Linked DNA regions of Homo sapiens: regions 1, 2, 3 and 4 are each linked to region 5. Evidence: promoter capture Hi-C in 16 types of primary human blood cells and fetal thymus (Javierre and others, 2016). All regions are on one chromosome and are shown on one strand. Each heading gives the region's core, a stretch centred on a gene start or on the middle of the fragment in contact. The rest is flanking DNA. Distances are from core to core; before and after follow the strand shown. Region 1 overlaps MTFR2 (mitochondrial fission regulator 2). Region 2 overlaps AHI1-DT (AHI1 divergent transcript). Region 3 has its middle 48 kb from the start of MTFR2. Region 4 overlaps AHI1-DT (AHI1 divergent transcript). Region 5 holds the start of PDE7B (phosphodiesterase 7B).

Evidence for each region. The method cuts DNA at HindIII sites, captures the fragments that hold promoters and counts their contacts. A CHiCAGO score of 5 or more calls a contact.
Region 1: a contact is called between a fragment that was not itself captured here and the fragment with the promoter of PDE7B in region 5, in 1 of 17 cell types (total B cells). The highest score is 6.1, in total B cells.
Region 2: a contact is called between a fragment that was not itself captured here and the fragment with the promoter of PDE7B in region 5, in 1 of 17 cell types (endothelial precursors). The highest score is 5.1, in endothelial precursors.
Region 3: a contact is called between a fragment that was not itself captured here and the fragment with the promoter of PDE7B in region 5, in 3 of 17 cell types (M2 macrophages, M1 macrophages and megakaryocytes). The highest score is 5.6, in M2 macrophages.
Region 4: a fragment that was not itself captured here is called in contact with the fragment with the promoter of PDE7B in region 5 in 5 of 17 cell types (erythroblasts, total B cells, naive CD4 T cells and 2 more); the score reaches 6.5 in erythroblasts.

The regions. Positions count from the first base shown.
Region 1 is chr6:136,240,513-136,243,722 of GRCh38, reverse strand. It overlaps MTFR2 (mitochondrial fission regulator 2), which reads left to right. Exons shown (of 8, transcript NM_001099286.3): 4 at 750-862; 5 at 2,047-2,279. Among named protein-coding and RNA genes, the nearest start is that of MTFR2, 8.2 kb to the left of the region's middle. The HindIII fragment of the contact is 1,691 bases long and covers 926-2,616 here.
Region 2 is chr6:135,552,999-135,556,132 of GRCh38, reverse strand. The region is part of intron 2 of AHI1-DT (AHI1 divergent transcript); the gene reads right to left. Among named protein-coding and RNA genes, the nearest start is that of AHI1-DT, 57 kb to the right of the region's middle. The HindIII fragment of the contact is 2,163 bases long and covers 596-2,758 here.
Region 3 is chr6:136,200,470-136,203,485 of GRCh38, reverse strand. No RefSeq gene overlaps it. Among named protein-coding and RNA genes, the nearest start is that of MTFR2, 48 kb to the left of the region's middle. The HindIII fragment of the contact is 443 bases long and covers 1,467-1,909 here.
Region 4 is chr6:135,502,531-135,505,786 of GRCh38, reverse strand. The region is part of intron 2 of AHI1-DT (AHI1 divergent transcript); the gene reads right to left. Among named protein-coding and RNA genes, the nearest start is that of AHI1-DT, 6.4 kb to the right of the region's middle. The HindIII fragment of the contact is 1,635 bases long and covers 595-2,229 here.
Region 5 is chr6:135,849,854-135,853,127 of GRCh38, reverse strand. PDE7B (phosphodiesterase 7B) reads right to left here and starts at 1,427. Exons shown (of 13, transcript NM_018945.4): 1 at 1,109-1,427. The coding sequence starts at 1,129. RefSeq lists a silencer at 1,403-1,640. The HindIII fragment of the contact is 11,590 bases long and covers 1-3,274 here.

The DNA.
Region 1 (3,210 bases), core at 522-3,021, 390 kb before region 5:
TTTTTTTTAAGATAAGGTCTTGCTGTCGCCCAGGCTGAACGAAGTGGAGTCGCGTGATAACGGCTCACTGCAGCCTCAACCTCCTGGGCTCAAGTGATCCTCCCACCTCAGCCTCCTGAGTAGCTGGGACTACTTGGGAGGTGTGCACCACCACACCTGGCTGACTTTTTTTTGGTCTGGTAGAGACGGGATCTTGCTATGTTGCCCTGGCTGATCTTGAACTCCTGGCCTTAATTGATCCTCCTGCCTTGGCCTCCCAAAGTGCTGGGATTACAGGAATGCACCACCATGCCCAGCCAACTTTTCTTTTTAAGTAGAAGGAATACACTCTAAAATAATAATAAAAAGTATAATATAGTAAATACTAGGTGATAGGAATATTTCAGTTTCATCATAATCTTATGTGACCCCATGTATATGCAGTCCATGATCGACCTAAATGTTACGTGGTACATGTCTGTAATGACATTCACAGATGGGCAAGTGTGAACAATAACTGAAGAGCTTAATTTTATTTTGCATTTTGTGATAGATGAAATTAACCAGGGGAGAGAATATTGCTTAGTGCTTAGACTTCAGCATAACATTTTCCCCAGTGTTCTTTCGTGCTAACAGGTACATGTTTTTCTATTGAATATTCTTTTTATTTTTCTTTCTTTTGGATTGTTAACTAATTTAATACCATGGGGCATGTGTCTTCTCCTGACTCCCTGCAGAGCTCTGACTATTTTTTTCTTTTTTTACTTTAGTTGATCCCGCTCTTGAACTCTGTAGACTCTGATAATTGTGGATCTATGGTTCCATCTTTTGCTGATATTTTGTATGTGGCAAATGATGAAGAAGCCAGTTATCTCAGATTTCGGTAATTTTATATGCTTATCTTGGGAAGTGGGCTATAAACTGAATTCTTGCATGTGTCGAAGCTTGTTAAGATTGATTGAGCTTTTTTGTTTTGTTTATCTTCAAACTGTGCTGTGCCCTACTGTATCTTCTTAATAAAGAAGACTGGCTGCTTTTCATTTTTTTAGCCAGTTGTTTTTTTTTTAGTGCACATTTAAACCTAACACCAGGCCTAGGAGGGAGTGGTTATTAAAGGGATATTAGAATCATGTTTTTAGCCAAAACTTATATACTGTTTACTGTGCACCAGGCAATGATGTTAAATGTATTTCAAAATTTGGATGTGTTACTCCTAGGGAGTATTACTTTATATGTTAGTATATTCAGATACAGGCTCTAAGCACATTAAGTGTCAATTATTTAAGTATTCCGGCTGATTTTATTATGTATCAAACTGGCACCAATTTTCAAATAGTTAAAATAACATACATTTCACCCTAACATAATCCTGAATGTAAGGCTCTTTATTAACTTATATAGAACTTCTAAATAAATTAACTTACCTGCGTTTAAAGTTAATAAGTAGAACAATTGCAGGTAATTATTTTGGTTTTATAATCTAAAAGCAAAGTTTGTTTTGTTCATTCCCTGGTCACTGACTGGTCCTCCATTGGAGGCTATGTTCTGTTTATATTGGGAATACAAAGCTAAATAAGATATTTTCCTTGTCCTCAGTGGTGACTCTAGAAACAATCATGGGGGATAGAGAGTAGGTTTTTTTTTTTTTTTTTTTTTTTTTTTTTGAGACAGAGTCTTACTCTGTCGACCAGGCTGGAGTGCAATGGCACGATCTTGGCTCACCACAACCTCTGCCTCCCAGGCTCAAGTGATTCTCCTGCCTCAGCCTCCTGAGTAGCTGGGACTACAGGGGCACGTCATCACACCGGCGAATTTTTAAAAATATTTTTAGTAGAGACAGGGTTTCGCCATTTTGACCAGGCTGGTCTCGAACTCCTGGCCTCAGGTGATTCACTGCCTCAGCCCCCAAAGTGTTGGGATTACAGGTGTGAGCCACTGTGCCCGGCCTGAGAGTAGCTTTTATTTTGTTTTATTGTCTTTTGATTTTCACGTAGGAGTGTAAGAGTTTATACCTCTTTTGATTGGAAATATATCTTCCCTCCATTTCCTATTTTTTTTCACCCACAGAAATAGTATATGGAAAAATGAAGAAGAGAAAGTGGAAATTTTTCATCCTTTGCGACTAGTTCGGGATCCACTGTCACCTGCTGTAAGACAGAAAGAAACTGTGAAAAATGACCTGCCTGTAAATGAAGCTGCAATTAGAAAAATAGCTGCCCTTGAAAATGAGCTGACTTTTCTTCGCTCTCAGATTGCAGCAATTGTGGAAATGCAGGAACTGAAAAATAGTACAAATTCTAGTAAGTAACAGTAGGATTTTTGTTTCAGTTAGATGATACTCATGGTATAGCCTATACCAACCTGTACAGCATGATACTGTACTGAATATAGTACGTATAGTAGCATACAGGAACATCTAGTATTTAAGTGAGTACAATTCTGAATAAGTACCATGAAAACATTAAATGTACATAAAAGGATGTTGAATATACAAAATTATTATATCTGATGTTTATTCAGGATAAATTAAGACACATTTGTAGTGAGGGGATGGCTTTGATTTAAAGAAGAACTAGCTTTACTATACTAGAAGATTGTATTTTTGTATTAAAAAGTCTGTTGTCTTCTAAGTAAGCTTTTTTTTTTTTTTTTTGAGACGCAGTCTTGCTCTGTCGCCCAGGCTGGAGTGCAGTGGCACGATCTTGGCTCACTGCAAGCTCCACCTCCCGGGTTCACGCCATTCTCCTGCCTCAGCCTCTCGAGTAGCTGGGACTACAGGCGCCCGCCACCACGCTCGGCTAATTTTTTGTATTTTTAGTAGAGACGGGGTTTCACCGTGTTAGCCAGGATGGTCTCGATCTCCTGACCTCGTGATCTGCCCGCCTTGGCCTCCCAAAGTGCTGGGATTACAGGCGTGAGCCACCGCGCCCGGCCCTCAGTAAGCTTTTCTAACTCTTCATGAAAGCATTGGATATTAAAGAGGAAGAATGCATTGGTTTGAAAGAGGATATAGGTTTGAGGCATCATATGTTTATAGTTTTTAGTTATTGCTGCTACACTTCCACCAAGTTGAGGTGAGTCATGTTTTCCAGATGATTGTTTTATAAATTTATAGAGATACAACTTGCTTTAAACTTATGCACACACATACACACAACATGTATGTATGCGTGTATAAAATGTAAAGCAATCTAGGTACTGAATGCTTTTCACAACAGATTTGGCTGTAAA
Region 2 (3,134 bases), core at 428-2,927, 300 kb after region 5:
AAGGACAGCAGATGAACCAAAGTTCCATGGGGTAGCAATTTAGGGAGAAGGGGAAAGAGTTGCAAAAGCATGGCAATATGAACTCCCTTTTATCACCTACTCCTTCCCCATCTCCTACCTGAGCTAAGGAGGAGCTCAGAGAGTGAGGAAAGTTCCCTATAGCCTGTGAATGAGTTTCAAAGCTCTCTGGTCACCTTTCTCTTTTGTGAATGAGTTGTCACTCACAGAAAAAAAAAAGAAAAAAAAACAATAAGAAATGTTTGTGTCCAAAACATGCTGCAGGGGGAGTTTCAACAAGTTCCCGTCTCTTTCCTTTTTGCTAGTGAGAAGCTTGGTAGAGACCAGTTTGATATTTCCAGGCCTGCTGATGCCCTACCTTCCGTTCACACAGCCGTTGAATCACCAGGCCTCAGACAAAATGAGGAAGTGTTCTTTCTCCATGTCGTCTCAGCAGTAGTCACTGAATTTTTCTGCCACTTCAATCTGTATATTTTGTGGTTTTATGATGTTTAATATCATGGTTTTATCTAAAATCCTGTTGTTGATTGTTTCTAGAATTTTTCCAGGAGCTAATTTAAATTTGTTGTCAAAAGCTTCCCATCACATGAAGTCAATACTGATCAATAATCACAGTTGGAAGGGACTTCACAAATAGCTAGCAGAAGACTCGTCATGTTACAGATAACAAATCTAAAGTCCGAAGAAGTCAGACAGCTGGCTTAGTTTCTGTAAGTTATAGTATCTAACTTAATAGGGTCACAGGATCTGAGAGTTAAAATTATCCTTACGTTAATCAATTTGATCAAATAAATATTTTAAGTTTCTGTAGAGCAAAGAAAAAAGAAACTCAAAGACAAATTCAAGAGGTAAAAACATTTCAAGAAATAATTTGCAACACAACAAAGGTTTATCTCCTATAATAAAGAGTTCTTTAAGTCAATAAGAAAAAGACCAACAGCCCAGTAAAAAATAATGGGCAAAACATTTAATTTAGCAACTTGCCATCATACTGGGAATTCCCTTTCCTGCTCCTCTGTGGTGAAACTCCTGTTCCCTGGATCCTCTTTCTTCCTTATTTCCAAGGAGTACATTCTCCAACAGGTTCCTGAGAAAGTTTTTAGACCAATTAGAAGAGAGGTAACTGTTTTAAGATCTTAGGGGTCTAAAAATATCTTTTTTATGCCATATATTTGATTGAGGGTTTTGCCGGGCACAGATTTCCATGCTTGAAAGAAATAATACACATAAATTGAAATATTATTTTTATGTCATTCTTAACCAAATTACTTATTAATGGGATCTGTTTAATGTTGGGCACTGCACAATTTCTCAAGCCTTGGACTTAGAATGAATACTGCCACCCTCGTTTCCTGTTCCCAGATAATTTTCACAGGGTATTTACTTGCTTTTAATTTCATCAACTCAGATTTGCAAAGATAACATCATTGAAAGGAACATAGCTCAATCTAAAGACAGAACTATAAAATGAACTACTTCCATTTAGTATCTCAAAAAGTATCTAAAAGATATCAATGTCACTATATTTTTGTTTGTTTGTTTGTTTGTTTTATTATACTTTAAGTTTTAGGGTACATGTGCACATTGCACAGGTTAGTTACATATGTATACATGTGCCATGCTGGTGCGCTGCACCCACTAACTGGTCATCTAGCATTCACTATATTTTTCTCAATAATTTTAAAATTCCAGGGGTTAGGGTTAGGGTTAAGGTTAGGGTTTGGGGTCAGGGTCAGGATCAGAATTAGAGAAAATAAAGAAAAAACTTTTTTCAATTCCCATGGCACCCACCCTATGAATTTGCTCTTGTGCCCTAGGGCTGACCTCTGTGCAAGGTTTGAGAACATCAGCTCTGACCTTTAGGGAAAAAGCAAAGTTAGATCACTTTATTACGTATGTATAGTATGAGCACATGTATGTGTATATATATACTAAGTACACATATATGTATGAATGTGTGTGTATACACACACATGCAAATATCTGCCATTTATCTGTGTATGTGTGTATACACACTATATATACAAACATGTGTCACATAAATTTACATACTTTAAAAATTACAGTCTTATATACATCAAAATGATGGTGATTATCTCTAAGTGGTAAAAATTATGGGTGATTCTTGCTTTCTTCTTTATGCTTTTTATGTTTACACTTCCCATGAGGTTCAATTTTATAACCAATGAAAGCAGTGAAGCTCCATTTTGAGCAAAAGCTCCATTTTGCTTAAAAATTAAGCACACAGACCCAAGTTCCAACTAGCTTCTTTTAATAAGGAAAGCAAGTTTGGAACTTATTCAAAAAAACAATTTTTCTGCTGAAAATGCATTTGAACCATTGTAAATAATCATATTAGAGACAGATTAGGGTAAAATAGCACTATTCTATAGTTCAACTAAGAGCTGAGAAAAAGACTTTCTCTCATTCAAAGATCAGATATTTTTTAAAGCATGAGATCAAAGTAAAAACACTCTTAAAAAAGAAAAGAAATACAACCTCTTCCAAAAATAGATACAAGCCCACAACACATACCTCAAATGTATTGTCATGAAGCTGATGAAAACTTTAAACTGTCCTCCTGGATAGGAGAACTTAATGAAAGAACCACCTCTGTAAATGCTAGAACTTAGGTGGAAATGGAAGGGGAAAATAAGACCATCACAAAAATGAATGTCACATTTAGATATCACGGAAAGGAGGACAGATAGAACAAATTCAAGGACCTGAAGAACAAGCTTGAGAATACTGTGCCAAACCAAAAGAGTTTAAAAGGACTAGAGAGGAAAGTAAAGCTATGGAAGGAAGACAGACAAAAGAAATGAAGTATACATTTATTTAGGGTCCATGAAACAGAAAACAATAAGACCCAGAAAGGTACTCAAAAATATAACTTAAAAATCATTTTTAAATAAATATTTGAATCTACAAATTCAAATGTCACATGATGTTTCAGCAAAAATGCATGAAAGCGATCAAACTGGTAATGTATCTTTTCTGGTGAATATATAAAATTTCAAAGATAAAGGAAGAATCTGGTCATCTATAAGGGAAAAAAATCAGATAAATTTCAACTTTCTGTCAAGTCTTCAGGGAAATGATTATGCACTTCAGAG
Region 3 (3,016 bases), core at 439-2,938, 350 kb before region 5:
AAAAGATATGGAAGAGAGAAACAAAGATGTGTTTTGTTCCTCCTTCCATGAAACTTCTCCACACTTCCTCACTCTACCTCCAAATATGTAAAAACAACCACATCTCAAACCTGAAACGCTCTATCTCAATGCTGTCAATCAGGTGAAATCTGCAAGATATGATACACACACACAAAAACACACACACACACATGTAAACACACACAAATGCATGTAACACTGCTGAAGTCTGAATTGTTACCGGATTTTTATCAATGTTGATTTCCTGGTTGTAATATAGTTATTGTAATATAGTTATACAAGACGTTACCATGGGGAAAATTGGGTAAAGTGGATGAAGAGTTCACAGGATCTCTCTATTTCTTTCTTTCTTTCTTTCTTTTTTTTTTTTTTTTGAGATAGGGTCTCACTCTCTTGCCCCAGGCAGGAGTGCAGTGGTGTGAAACAGCTCCCTGCAGCCTCAACCTTTGGGCTCAAGTGATCCTCCCATCTCAGCCTCCCAAGTAGCTGGGACTACAGGTGTGTGCCACTACACCCAGCTAATTAAAAAAAAATTTAATAGAGATGAGGTCTTGCTATGTTGCCCAGGCTGGTCTCAAACTCCTAGCCTCAAGTGATCCTCCTGCCTCGGCCTCCTAAAGTATTGGGATTACAGGCATCAGCAGCTGTGCTCAGCTTCTCTATTTCTTTTATTTTCATTTTGACTACTTACCCCCAAGTTCCAACTCTGTATTATTTCTTACGAGAACATTTAAATCTACAATTATCTCCAAATAAAAAGTTAAAGAGTCTGACAGATGCGTATGGACTGTGTGTGTGTGTGTGTGTGTGTGTGTGTGTGTGTGTGTGTATGTGTGTATGTGTACCGGGGATGGGTAGGAGGTAAAGGTGAGTGAGTGAGGAGTGTCTGTAGGAGGTAAAGCATTGGGTGAGTGAGTGAGGAGTGAGGAGTGTCTAGGTGTCCTCAGCTGAATACTGCCCCCTATAGTTGCTGTCCATCCAGAACCTCAGAATATGACCTTACTTGGCAATAGTCTTTGCAGATGTAATTAGTTAAGATGAAGCCATATGGGATTAGGGTGGGCCCTAGTCCCTGGCTCGTGTCCATGTAAGAAGGGAAAACAGACCCATGGGGACGAAGGCCTGTGATGATGGAGGCAAAGGTTGGAGTTATGCTGCCACCACTCAAGGACCGGCATGGATTTCTGGTGAGCTCTGGGAGCTAGAAGAAGGAAGGAAGGACTCTTCCCTGGTAGCTTCAGAGAGCTCAGAGACCTGCTGATACCTTGATTTCAGACTTCTAGCCTCCAGAACTGTGAGAGAATACATTTTTGTATTTGAAGCCACTCTGGTAATCTGTTAGGGCAGCCCTAGAAAACTCATACTCAGTGAGTAATTTGATTCATCTTGGTTATTCTTCCTTAAATGCTTATTTTCCCTCACAGGATACGGAATCAATATAAGCTTTCTCCTCTTGTCAGTTCTCCTCCATGCCTCCTATCTTCGTTGACAGTCTCATTTGAGTTAGAGTAAGAGTTGAGTAATCTCTTGCTGCAAATGGAACATAGATGGCACCAGCGTTGTTTCTGGCCAATGCCTGCTGTTCACACGTGTCAATACAGTGCAAGGAACATATGACATCAGCTCTAATGCTCACTATAAATTGTAAACTAGGCAGTAATGCCGTTGTTTCTGAAATAAAATTAAGCCTCAGTGAACACTTCTTACAAGTCACCTGATTTATATGGACAAAGTTTGCCAATATCATTGACATCTGGTCAGAGCCTTTACCAATAATATGTACAAAAATGTTTAAGTGTTCCTAGAACACTTAGCTCTGACTATACCAAGAAGAAACAGTGATGTCTAGTTAATTGCTTCTGGTTTGCTTGCTAGCCCAAATGAAGCTTTATTGACATGTCACATACCTTTTAGATATTCAAGTCAGGTTACCCACCTCCCTCCACAATCTTAGGCCTTTCTCAATGACACTTGTACATACCCCAACTCTCAGCAGAATGAGGTCCTGGCACGCAGCCCTTGCACTGTGGCCTGCCCACCCTGTTGAAGTCTCTTCTCATCTTATCCTCCTCAGAGGCTGGCACTGGTACCTGGGGACTTCACAGTCTGTGCAGTGATCAGACAATCACTGTGGGGATAGGGCCTGTGCTTGGCTGCCTGACATTTCTGCAGGTTGGTGGTGGGGCTGAACATTCACTAAATCATACTTGAGAACTGGAAACCTACTACTAAAAAAACACGGAGGCTGGGCATGGTGGCTCGGGTCTGTAATCCCAGCACTTTAGGAGACTGAGGAGGGTGGATCACTTGAGGTCAAGAGTTTGAGACCAGCCTGGCTAACATGGTAAAACCTCGTCTCTACTAAAAATACAAAAATTAGCTGGGCATGGTGGCATGTGCCTGTAATCCTAATCCCAGCTACTCAGGAGGCTGAGGCATGGGAATCACTTGAACCCGGGAGGAGGAGGTTGCAGTGAGCCGAGATTGCACCACTGCACTCCAGCCTGGGCAACAGAACGAGACTCGGTCTCAAACAACAAAAAAGCCCACACTGATAAGAGAAAAAAAATCTCAAGCTTCCCGTTAGAGTTTAAGATAAAGCTCCAGATGCCAAAAGGTATTTTTTGATAAGCTATTTCTAAAATAACACATTTTTAATAACTAAAGTCAGTAGAGGCATCTCAGAAATATTTCAGAACGTTACATAACTCAAGTATTGAAAGATCAGAACTTTTTGTTGTCTCCATCTCAGTAAGGTTAATACTTGAAAACTGATAATTACAGAGTATAATTCTCACTTATGCTGTTCTATAACACTATAGGTCTTTTGTTTTCATGTAGAAGTTTTTTTTTTTCAAATGTGGACTGAGACAGATGTTTCTGAGAAAATGAATTCATTGAAATGTAAAGTCTGACTCTCCTGTTAAAAAAAAAAAAAGGCTCAAAGTAAATTATAGCAGTGGGAAGAAGGAAGAAATAAATAATCCCCAAAACT
Region 4 (3,256 bases), core at 163-2,662, 350 kb after region 5:
TGTTTGCATAAAAGTGGAACCCTTAAAAGATTACAGCAGCAAAGATAAACAAGGAAGTTTGTTTGTAGGGGCTAAAGTTCAGGTAGAGAAAAAAAAAATCTTCCCTCAAAATTATAACCATATCCTCTGTTTCATAGGATTTGGGTTCGAACCTATAGTAATCTGATAGGTTGGATATGGGGTATAAGAAAAGGAGAAAGGTCAAAGGTTATGATAAAAGAAAAACTTTAACTGAATTAAATTTAAAGGAATTTAATTGAGCAGTGAATGATTTGCAAATCAGACAGCCTTCCCAGACAGAGTAGGCTCGGAGACTCCAGCGCAGCCATGTGCTGGAAGATTTATGGACAGAAAAAGGAGTGAGGCACAGAAAATGGAAGTGAGGTACAGAACCAGCTGGATTGGTTACAGCTTTGTGTTTGCCTTATTTAAACATGGTTTGAATAGTTGACGACATTTGATTGGCCAAAACTTGGTGATTGGCCCAAGTGTAGGCTACATCTGGTTACACTTCTACTTGTTATAGTTTAAGATGTACAAAGAAACATTTAGGCTGAATTTAAAATATGTAAGGAGGTAGTTTTAGGCTAAGCTTGATTTAACAGTTACTCCAATGTATTTGGTGTTTGGCTTGAGTAACTGGAAGAATGGAGTTGTCATTGCTTGAGATGGAGAAAGTGGGGATTTGAGGAGGCAGATGAGGAATTCAGTGTTAGAAAAGTTAAGTTTGAGAATATGTCGGACATCTAAGTGGAGACATGTAATATACAGTTAGATTTATGAGTCTGAAGTTCAAGGAAGAATAATGGGCAGAAGGGATATATTTGGGAGTAGTCTACATGACAGTGGGACTATAGAACTGTAAGAAATCACTGAGTGAGTACGTGTAGATAGAGAAGTCCAGGAACATACCTCTGGGACATTCCAATATCAAGAGGTCAAGGTGATAGGCATGAACTAGTAAAGGAGCCCTAGAAAGAGGAAAAGCAGGAAAATGTGCAATCACCGGTTAGAAAATGTAATAAGAATTGGATGCATTCAAAATAGCACCAAAAATCTATAAAATGCTGAGGAATAAATAATAATATGAGAGACTTATAAGAAAAGTATCTTATTTTTTAAAAGCCACCATATCACCTTTTGACACTTTCACTATAATTGCTTAAAAACACTTTGGATTAGAAGTGATATAGCATAAAGCCATTAAAATGAATGGGGTAGATATATGTTACTGACATAAAAAGCCTTTTAGAAATAATAATACTTGATAAAGGACAAAAACAAGATGACAGGACAAAATCTATGGTAAGAAGTTATCTTTATAATTTAGTATATTTAGTATATGTATGAATGGAAGTATGAAAGAATGTATAGAAGACTGATCAGTGATTAAAAACACGGCTGACTTTCGGTTACCACATTATAAATATCTGAACGATTGTTTGAAATTTTTCCACGTGCACATAAGAACATTACTAACAAAGTTAGAATTTCCAGTGATGATTAAGTGGTGATATATACAGCATCTCCTTCTTATCTGCATGGGATATGTTCCAAGATCCCCAGTGGATGTCTGAAACTACAGGTAGTAGCAAAGCCTGTATTTACTATACTTGCATGCCTTTCTCAAAGTCAAATAAAACATAGAGTCAAATTTCCACATTTCAAACATTTTATTTGGGAAATGAGAATTGCATTTCCAGGCAAACACACAGAATGGGTGGTCTTCAGTATGTCTGAAAAACAAAGATCAGGTTGGAGGTTTTATAAAAAGGAAAAATGTTACCCATTGTTTTGCAAAGAAACAATGGGTAACATTTGGGGAGCTGGCGAGCTCTGATTGGCGAGTGATGGCAGTGGGTAAAACTAATCTTAGTGTCACAGCAGGTTATTTCATTAGCTATCAGATAAAACTGATTTCAGATTACAACAGGCAGTTTCAGTAGCTGGGCTTGTGGAAAATTTAATTCTTGGAGCAGATGCTATATGCCCCAAATGCTTTTTCCCCTGGGCCCTTCACTCTGATTTAGTTGGGTACAACAAGAATGACCCAATTTCTATAATCAACTTTCACACCTCTCATAAAGTTTAATTTATAAATTAGGCCCAGTAAGAGATTAACAGCAATAACTAATAACAATATAAAGTTTTTATAACAATATACTGTATTAATAGTTATTATGTAAATGTAATCTCTTATTTTCTCTCTAAAAATTTTCAAACCAAGCTTGTTGAGTGAAACCTCAGAAAGCAAAACCATGGTTAAGGGGGCACTATTGTAATAGCATGGAAATGAAATTGCAACATAATGTTCATTCAAGTAAGCAGAAATAAACATTTTACACACAACATGACCAAAATTAAAATACGCATGGAAAACAGACTGAAACGAAATTTGTCAAAAAAGTTAATTTAGATTCTCTTGGGTAGTGGTATTGAGTATTTTTTCCTTTTTTTCATGATTCTACATATTTCAAATTATCTATAATACATATATTCTTACTTTTATTTTTCCTGCTTATTATAAAAATTTCCAAACACACAAAGGAAAAAGTATAATGAAATACTAGGTACCTACCAGCCAGCTTCAACAACCATCAAAATTTAGATATACATGTGTCATTTCCTCTCACCTTTTAAAAAAATCTAGAATATTTTAAAGCAAATCCTGGACACCTTATCATTCTGTTCTGTGCACGTAAGTCATACTCTACATAACCACACCAACATTATTTTACCTAATGAAATTAATAAACATTTCTTAACATCTTCTAAATATTTAGCCCATAACAAAAAATCTGATTGCCTAAAACATGTTTTTCTATAGTTGGTTTATTTAAATTAGAATCCAAACAAGGCCCATTCATTCCATCTGTTATGGCTCCAGAACCCTCTCCAATAGTGTCATGGACTCAGTTATGCCCCAGTTCCAAATGCATATGTTGAAGTTCTAACCTTAAAGTACCTCAGAATGTGCCTGTATTTGAAGACAGAGTCTCTAAAGAGGTAATTAAGTTAAAAGGAGGTCATTAGGGTGAGCCCTAATCCAATATGACTCTGTCCTTATAAGAAGAGATTAAGATACGGGCAGGTACAGAGGGAAGTGCAGGTGAAGACACAGGGAGACAACAACCATCTACAAGCCAACAAGAGAGTCCTTAGAAGAAACCAACCCTGCAGACATCTTTATCTCAGTCTTCTAGCCCCCAGAATTGTGAGAATATAAATTTCTGTGGTACTTTGTTATGGCTGCCCC
Region 5 (3,274 bases), core at 178-2,677:
TTTGCTATTGCATAACTTTGAGAAGGGTAATAGGGAAATCCATGGTAACCATATATTACTTAAATTGCTGTTACAAAAACCGACTCTTTGGATAGGAATGATTTTTAGCAGGGATCCTCCTTAAGACATAATAATGTGCCACTGAAAACAACATTAGCCCTGTATTGAATTGCCAATCTTCCTGCAGCATTTAGTGTGTTTACTGTATATGAATGCCTATGCCTGTCTCTGGTGCAAAGAGGTTTACTCTTATTGCAATAGTCACTCTGGCTAGAGCACATGAAGAACAGAATTTTTAAATGATTAATTAGTCCCCAGGCTCAATCACTTAAGCCCCTAATTGAATATCTGACTCCATTTTCAACTATTGTAGGAAAAGATAATTAGCAAATTTGCAGTGGTAATAAAGAAGTTTTACTTTCCTTTATAAATAATAATATCTAAATTTCTGGTCATGTAACTTAGTACTTGCATCTCTCCTGGACTTCTGAATCCAAAACATTTTTTGAAAAATGCAACAAGGTGATGAAGGATTTTTCTTCAGAGCTCATTTTTTGGACATCTTCTATTGATTTTTTTCTACCTTCAGTCTCACTATCAGCTTCTTCCCTTCTTGCCACTAATTTCTTCATCTTGAAGTCTGCTATCAACCAACATGAAAAACTCAAGAAAAAAACTAATTTCCTTCTTCCCTGTTCCACAAACCTTACCAATCCCTTTACCAGCATTTTCCTATCCTGTCCCACCAAAAATGAAAATTACCCAACTCCAAGATTTATGTTGGAGAAAAAAAATATTGCATTCTTTATTTTTTTTTTTAAAGACCACCTCAGTGTGGGCTCAAAGTGCAGTGAAAATGCCGGAGTCTCATTACACTGGTTGGAATGAAACCCTGCTGCCCTTAAACGGTTAATTCAGGGTAAGTGATAATGTTTAGTCAGTTCGCCTAGAAAAAGGAAGGAAATTCAAAAGCTGGTTGCTGTAGTAACAATCACAGACAAAAAACATATATATGTACAGGTTCATTTTAAATAAAAATCCTGCCATCTCTCTGTGACTCTATTCTCTCAAGAAAACTGAGCTTGCCGCTTAAATTTGTTGTACATACCTCAACCATTAAACAAGACATTTAACCATAGTGGCAGTTCTGTGACCTTTGAATGCCGTGAAATCTCTGAGCGGTGCTGCTTGTTCATGAAGACTTGTGCTGCAGAATCCAGCAACTTCATCCAGGATTAGGAATATAATTAAGTAACAAAAAAAAAAAAAGAAAAAAAAGGAAAAGAAATAAAGAAACACAAAAGCACACAAGGAGATCGAGAAAGAAGGAAGGTAGAAAGAGAGACTCTCCCTGGGTGAGTAACACCACTTTTCTCCCAGACAAGTGCTGGGACAGAGCCGAGCCTGCTGCAGTGCCCAGACCAACTGACTGGCTGGGTGAGCAGCCGCCGGCCTGCTAGGCTGGGAGGTGCTGTCAGTTGCCACAGGCAAGGAAAAGCAGAGACCAATCGGCTTCAACTCTGGCAGCTTACTGGAGTGGAGCCTTTTCTGTTTATGTTTCCTCATTTCAAGAGTGACGTCAAAGGGTTTAGTTTTTCCTCTGCATGTGCTATTAATTTTAAAGTACTGTACTATGGGAAGAATGTGTGTGTGCCTGTGGTCAGCCTGGGCACCCCACTCTCAGGAGAGCCCAAGAAACATTTTCTATATTCGGGAATACATTTAAAGAATTTAAAATACCTTGTGGTGAGGTGTATAAAAACAAAAGCAAAACAAAACAAAAATTAAATATAAAACCCTGAGCTAAATCATAGCAGCAAGATGTAGATTTTTTCCATCTGTGAGTGTATGTGCTCCATGCTCACTTGGCAGCTGTTGCTTATTTTTTTTTACCTAATTCATTTTTACTCTTACCTAAAAATGAGTTGTTAATTAAACTTGATAGCCATAGAGGCAGAATCGTACAAATGCACTGGTGAACAAAATGATGTGCAATGAAACATAGAACTCCTGTGTCAGTTTGTGCCATGGGTCCCTGCGTTTCCTCCAGCTTCCGTGGTGAAGCCTCAGGCTTGTTCCTGCCAGGGAGATGCCTCCTGATGCCAGCAGGAGTCATTCAAGAAGCAAGGCTATGGTGATGCCATGCAGGTGTGCCTGGGGCCTCAGCTTGTTCTTTCCCAAAGAGTATGAAGGTCCAGTTATTTAGGGATACTTCCTTTACCAGGGACCCCAGCTTATCCCTGGGTTACACTTCCCACTCTGGAAAAATCCCCATAGTTGCCATCTGTTGTTTCTGCCTCCCCCACATCCTCCTCCTTTTCCCCATCCCCATCCTAAATTCTGCTAACAGACCTTTTTTGGGTGGGCGGTGGGCGGAACTTTCCTTCCTCTATCTTCTATGGATTGCATGGACTTTGCCCCCAGCCCCATTCCCACGACAGAGCCACAAGGGGGCATGGGACCCACAGGGGCCAATCAGATTTCTCCATTGCTCCGAGGCAGACTATGTTTTAGGGGTGGGCGCAACACTAAAGAATGTCCACATTCCTTTTTCAAATACTAATATTGTTTCTTTGAGAAAGAAAGTATTTATGTATCCCTAAGAGCCTAGGCGCTAGGATTAAGCATCCCTGTAGTTGTTGGGGTTTATCTTTGGTGTTGAAGCTACAATAGTGAACAAAACAGATGGTTCTTTGCCCCCATGGAGTCTACATTTTGGAGAAGCAGGGAAATTGTCAAAGAAAAATAAGTAAACGTATAATGTCAGTTGGCAATGAGGGCTTCAAAATAAGGTAAGGAGAATGAGGTGTGTGTGTACACGTGCATGTGTGTGTGTGTGGTGTGTGTGCTATTTTAGGAAAGATGATCAGGGCAGCCCTCTGATAAAGCAACTTGGAGCGGAGGCCCGAATGATGGGACATAGCAGGTACTGTGTGCCTCTACCTTCCATGCAGATGAAGCCATGGAAAGGTCCCACAACACATGAGTGCTTGGCAGAGCCAAGGAACAGGAAGGGAAATAGAGTGGCTGGAAGAGAATGAGCAAAGGGAAGAAATAAGTTTCAGAAGGTATGTCTGGGACAAGATCAGGACATGTCTTACAGGCCATGCACACGACTTAGATTTTATTCCAAGGTGAAAACCTACCTATCAGAGTGTTTTGAACTGAGGAATGTCTATGATTCGACACGAATTCTGAAGAGATTTCTCTCTTTTCTCTGTGGAAGATAGACTCCTAGGGAGCAAGAGTAGAAGCAGAGAGACCAATAAATGAG